2 separate regions of the Homo sapiens genome follow, and region 2 is linked to region 1. Evidence: promoter capture Hi-C in 16 types of primary human blood cells and fetal thymus (Javierre and others, 2016). All regions are on one chromosome and are shown on one strand. Each heading gives the region's core, a stretch centred on a gene start or on the middle of the fragment in contact. The rest is flanking DNA. Distances are from core to core; before and after follow the strand shown.

Evidence for each region. Contacts are between HindIII fragments. The CHiCAGO score rates a contact against its expected background, and 5 or more counts as called.
Region 2: a fragment that was not itself captured here is called in contact with the fragment with the promoter of SLC4A4 in region 1 in 2 of 17 cell types (monocytes and naive B cells); the score reaches 8.4 in monocytes.

What each region holds. Positions count from the first base shown.
Region 1 is chr4:71,185,982-71,188,681 of GRCh38, reverse strand. SLC4A4 (solute carrier family 4 member 4) reads right to left here and starts at 1,423. Exons shown (of 26, transcript NM_001098484.3): 1 at 1,281-1,423. LOC124900712 (a long non-coding RNA gene) reads left to right here and starts at 2,158. Exons shown (of 2, transcript XR_007058133.1): 1 at 2,158-2,700. The HindIII fragment of the contact is 10,115 bases long and covers 1-2,700 here.
Region 2 is chr4:72,304,767-72,307,466 of GRCh38, reverse strand. It overlaps ADAMTS3 (ADAM metallopeptidase with thrombospondin type 1 motif 3), which reads left to right. Exons shown (of 22, transcript NM_014243.3): 16 at 1,400-1,480. Among named protein-coding and RNA genes, the nearest start is that of ADAMTS3, 260 kb to the left of the region's middle. The HindIII fragment of the contact is 1,092 bases long and covers 832-1,923 here.

The sequences.
Region 1 (2,700 bases), core at 174-2,673:
GAATCTACTGAAATCACAATGAAAAAAAAAAGCCCAAATGAGCAATGTACACTTTAATTAATTTAATTCAGGTAGTATTACAACTCCAAGTCCCAAGATACAAGAAAAAAGAGAAATACAGTACAACACAGTGTCTCTTAGGAAAGGAACTGCTGCAGGATTTGAGACAATGAGCGTTTAGTACAGCCCAGTGTTCTTGATTTCTCATTAGGAGCAACTTTCCAGGGCACTGAAGCGAACCAGGAAAAGAAATGGGGAGGGTAAGCCAAAGGGGTCGCTGCTCTTCAGTGTCAAGTTGGAAAGAGCTTGCTGCGATCAATTATGCTGAGAAGGTAGGGCCTTGAGAGGGAAGGAAGGATAGAAAAAAACAGTTTTACAGGGCGCTGAAAAAAGTGATAGAAGAGAGGTAGAACTGCTTCCTCCATCTTTCACGTCAAGTTCAAGTTTTTCTTTTTGTTCTATAAGAACTTTTGTCTTTATGGTGCTTGCTGCGGTTTGCTGATGTAGTTCCCAGGTCCTGCCTTCCTCTGGTGACTTATTAACGGACTGGCAACGGCTGAGTAAAATGCACTTAAGAAAAAAGAAATCACCTCTCTTTGCCAAGACTCACATGCTGCCCAGTACCTGAGGGAGAGCTCCGTTGTCGCTGGCCAAGAGAAATTCCAGTTTAACCTATGCCTCCCCTAGCCAAATCCATTGCAAATAAATGTGTGTGTGCCACTTGCAGAGAATCTGCCTGACTCACCCCCCGCCTTTGGCGTGCCAGGGAGAGATGTAAATGCTCCGTCCTGGAGCTGGCAGTGAAGTGGGGGCCGCGGCCTCGGTAGCACCAAGAGTCCCCAAATCTCCCCCTGTGATGGGTTTAGGGATGTGTTCCTCTCAAGCAGGTGCCTGGTCACAGGGCGACCACCCAGGCTCACAGCAACACACGTGTCACTGAGCCCGAGCCCAGCCCGCCGCAGAACTGGCCCCGCAGTCCTCGTAAAGACGCCCAGTTGCGCGCAGGGGACTTAGCAGTGAGGGAGAAGCAGACCACCCAAACTCTTCCTCTAAACCCTAAGAAGGAAAAAAAATACTTTTCCGCGGAAGCAGCCTCCACACACCGCCCGCGCCCAGCTCAGGGGATGCCCGGCCCGCAATTGACCTCTCTCTCCCTCCCAGGAGCGCGCTGAGGCCGCCTGCGCGCCCTACGGAATCGGCCCCCGGGCCCGCGCCCGCCTCCGCCTTGGAGCGAGGGACCCCATCGACCCTCCCGGCAGCTGCCGGGGCCGGGCGCTCACCTCCTGGGGTCTGGCTTCCGTCGCTCCTCCAGTTTGGCGGCGGAGTGTGGGGCTGCAGCGGCCACTGCCACTGCCGCCGCCGCCGCCGCCTTCGCTGCCACCGCGGCCGCCGCCGCCACCGAAGCGCTGCCCGGCGCGCCGCCGGGGTTGGAGGCTGGGGGGCCGCGGAATCCCTGGAGGCGCGAGCCCGGGACGCGGCGGGGCCGAGCCGCGGGAAGTTGTCTGCGCCGGGCGCGGAGCGAGCGGGGCGCCAGTCACCCGCGCCCAAGTAGTCACAACTTTGCCGCCTGGGTGGGTGCGCGCTCCGGAGAGAGGCGAGCGCGGGAGAGCGGGGCAAAGGCGCTGGGGCGGGAGGGTCTTCGGAGCAGGCAGGACTGCAACCTGAACGGCCCGCGAGGAAAGGGGAAAGGTGGCGCGGGGGGATGTCTACACAGCCTGTGTGGTGCGCGGCGAGCGAGTGTGTAAGAGCGCGGGCGTCTACTCTACTTTGCCTCCTGCAGCTCCTGCATATTTATGGGGATCTCTGATGTTCCTGCTAGTAACTAACACTGCAGCAGTGGAGCCCAGCCCAGGCGCCCCTCGGGAGCAAGCCGGGGTGCGGGGGCTCACGGAAGGCGGCCGCGGCGGAGGCTGTGCCGCGAGCGCGAGCCTGCGATCCATATTTAAAGCCGTAAGTGGCCTCGGCCGGCCCCCTGCCCTGCCCTCGCTCGTGCCCGCCAGCCCGGCCCCCACCGCTCCGGGCCGCTGCTCGGCGTCAGCCGCCCGGGCATCGGCGGCGGGGAGGGGCCTCGAGCCGCGCCGCCTCCGCCGGGGGCTTGGGCTCTGTGCGCAGCGCCCGCCCGGAGCTGGCGGAGGACCCGGCTCCGGACCGGCCGCTCTTGCCTCCCAGGTTCCTTTTCTCTCACGCCCTGGGCTGGGTCCTAGGTCCAGCTTTTTGTCCTACTCAAAAGAGTTCCCCAGTGGGGAGAGCCTGTGCTTTCATGCAGAACTAAAATTGCGTGAGTTTCCCAGCTCAGATCACTCTTGACTCTACTTTATAAAACTTGGGGCGTATAGAGTGCTGCCATAACACAGTATTAAGTAATTGTTCACCTTTAACAAAAGATGTCTGAAGATAACGTGGTTGTCAACTGTGTCCTTCACTTATGTCACTGATGCCTTTCTGTCTTCCTTGGGAGTTAGGAAAACAGCCTTAGCAAAGTGATTATTTGTATTTATTCTGTTCCTAAGTCTAATAATGAGGTTCAAGTACTCTTTGCCAAGCAAATAATATATCAGTGATCCAGCACCATTGCCATTGGTAAACTATTGAATCATAAGTAAACCATTAAGATATGAACAGACTGTCAGCACAGACACACCATCTATTGTTCTGGGTACTGCTAGAGAGTAGTCACTTAATGGATTGCAACCACATGGT
Region 2 (2,700 bases), core at 128-2,627, 1.1 Mb before region 1:
AGGAGCTCGTAATATTTCTCTTGCTGAAACAAGAGAAGCTAAAAACGTACTGGGTAAGTTGTAGCAAACTGCAGAAAGATGGGCATCCATAAATGGCATCAAGCTGTTTTGCTGTACTTGGCATCTTAAGCATGTTCCTTTTAGCCACTGTGTACTCAGGCAAACATGGTACATTTCATGTGTTAGACTTTACCCCAGGCTAAAGTGCTGAACACCCTGATCCCAAAAGGACCACTTTATTTAGTTAGGACACTAATAAATATTGTGAAAAACTTAGGTAAATCTATTCATAGGTGTATATTATTATACATATACAAATGACAAAAACACTTGTTTTTTCTTATTTCATCAATAATTGTGGATTGATAACTGGATTTCTGTTAATATTCTCCATAGAATATGTATTGGATGTTTCATAATGTATTGAAGGTGTAGGTTACATAATCATTTTATATTCATTTATTTGTATGATAATGAGATGTATAACATCTGTTCTAATTGACCTGACTATTGTCAGGTCATAATATTTATGATTTATGGTCATAATCTTAATTCTAAATGATTGTAAGATAATTTTTAGGACATGTGATAGTATCAACATAGTATGTGATATATGACATTTACAGTAATAGGAATGATATATGATTTTAAAACACAAAGCAACCTATTAAGCATATTGATTTTCTTATTTCTGGCTTAGGAGGTTTTGAGGTTAGGGTGCATATAAAGGCAATGCATAACACATCTTGCACACATTTTCCAACTAAGTGGTTTAAAATCCATGTTGTCGATTTGGTTAAAATAGTCCCATCATAAAACTTGCCTAAAGCTTTAAAATTAATACTGATCACAAGAAAAATGAAAGCACTGATTTTTCTGTTGTAACTCCTTTAGAATAAAGAAGGCTTTAAATATGAAAATATTTTAATAATTAGAAGTTTAGCTGTCTATACTTCCCTCTTAGACTTTTAAAATAACATGTAAGCAGATAACATATCCCAAAAAGTTTACAACTTAAGTGAACTTTCACTAAAAATTGACTCCACTTCAAAAGGATGGTTTAGAAAACTAGAATCACACAGAGGGACACAGGAAAGTATAGTATTTGCCTGAATTGTTGTTCACATCATTTGAAGGTCAACGCAAGATAAGTGACTAATACGTTGGTAACAAGATTAACTTTTTTCCCTCTTTAATAAAAAAAAAAGTTGCCTCTAATTTCATGTTGGATGTCACAAAAGCTACCAATGCTTTGAAGTTAATTTCCGAAACTGCTTCTTTAAATTTATGGATGCCCTCTTCTGCACGCAGAAGCAGTAAGAATGTAGTGCTCAACTAACCATGGTTGTTGCTTTTGTTTTCTTCTTTGCTTCCTACAATATTTACTACACATGCAAAGGGTACCTTAAGATGTTTGATATACCCCCTGGGGCTAGACATGTGTTAATCCAAGAAGACGAGGCTTCTCCTCATATTCTTGGTAAGTGTTTCTGTCTGCTGTCTCTGCTTTAACATGCACTGAAACATTGAAATGTCAAAGAAATCCTAAATATAGATATGTATATATGTACACATATATGTGCATACGTATATGTACATACATGTGCATACGTATATGTACGTACATGTGCATACGTATATGTGCGTACATGTGCATGATGTGCATGCGTATATGTGCGTACATGTGCATGTGTATATGTGTGTACATGTGCATATGTATATGTACATACATGTGCATACGTATATGTAAGAATCAAAATAATATATAAATGCATTAATTGAATGTTATGTAGGTTTTTTTTGGTCATTTCTCCCAACTATGCTTACTTTAAAACAAGAAACATAAAAAAAGTAGAGCTTTAATTTTGTATAGAAACTGGGGTTGGTTCCTAACTATATGAGGGAAAAATCATTTGACAAGCTTATATTTCTTATACACTTTTTGCTCTAAGGAATAAGAAAATAAATATGTTAATAAAATCCACTAAATCAAGGAATATCAGAAAAATTCATCATACTTATGTTTACAAATAAGTTCTGATATTTTGATTGATCCAATACTGTACGTATCCTTATTTTTATTGTATTTCACATTCTTTGAAAAGCAACCACAGGTGAATTTTACTAATCTAATCTTAAATTATTCTAATATCTGACATGTGTCAGGTTTTTGACTGGCACATGCAGATCCATTTGCCACGGAGAGCTGATTATAATTTCCACAAGAAGATTTTTTTTTCTTTTATGAGACGATTACATGGAAATGTCACTTTAAAGAGGTTTACATTTAAATTGTATAGACAAGTGTAAACATAACTTACTTATTCCTTGGCCTATAAGAACACTAAGATAATTTCTGAAGCTAAGACATCACGTATCAACTCCATGAAAATTTGTAGCAAATTGTTTTATTTCAGTTGTGACTTTAAAAAGTGCATTGTTTTATGGTGTTTCATAGAATTTTTAAACACATTTAATTTATATTCACTACTAAATGTCGTAATAGTCTAGCAGTCAGCTATAGTTCTCTCTCAAGCATTTAAAATCCCTTATTTTTCATCCTAGAATTCATATTAATGTCCTTGGAAAAAATAGACCAGTTTAAAGCCCAAGAGGAATAAATACATTTAATTAAAATTACTCATGTTTTTCACACATTTTCAATAATTGTAGTAACATGAAATTTTGCTTTCTAATGTA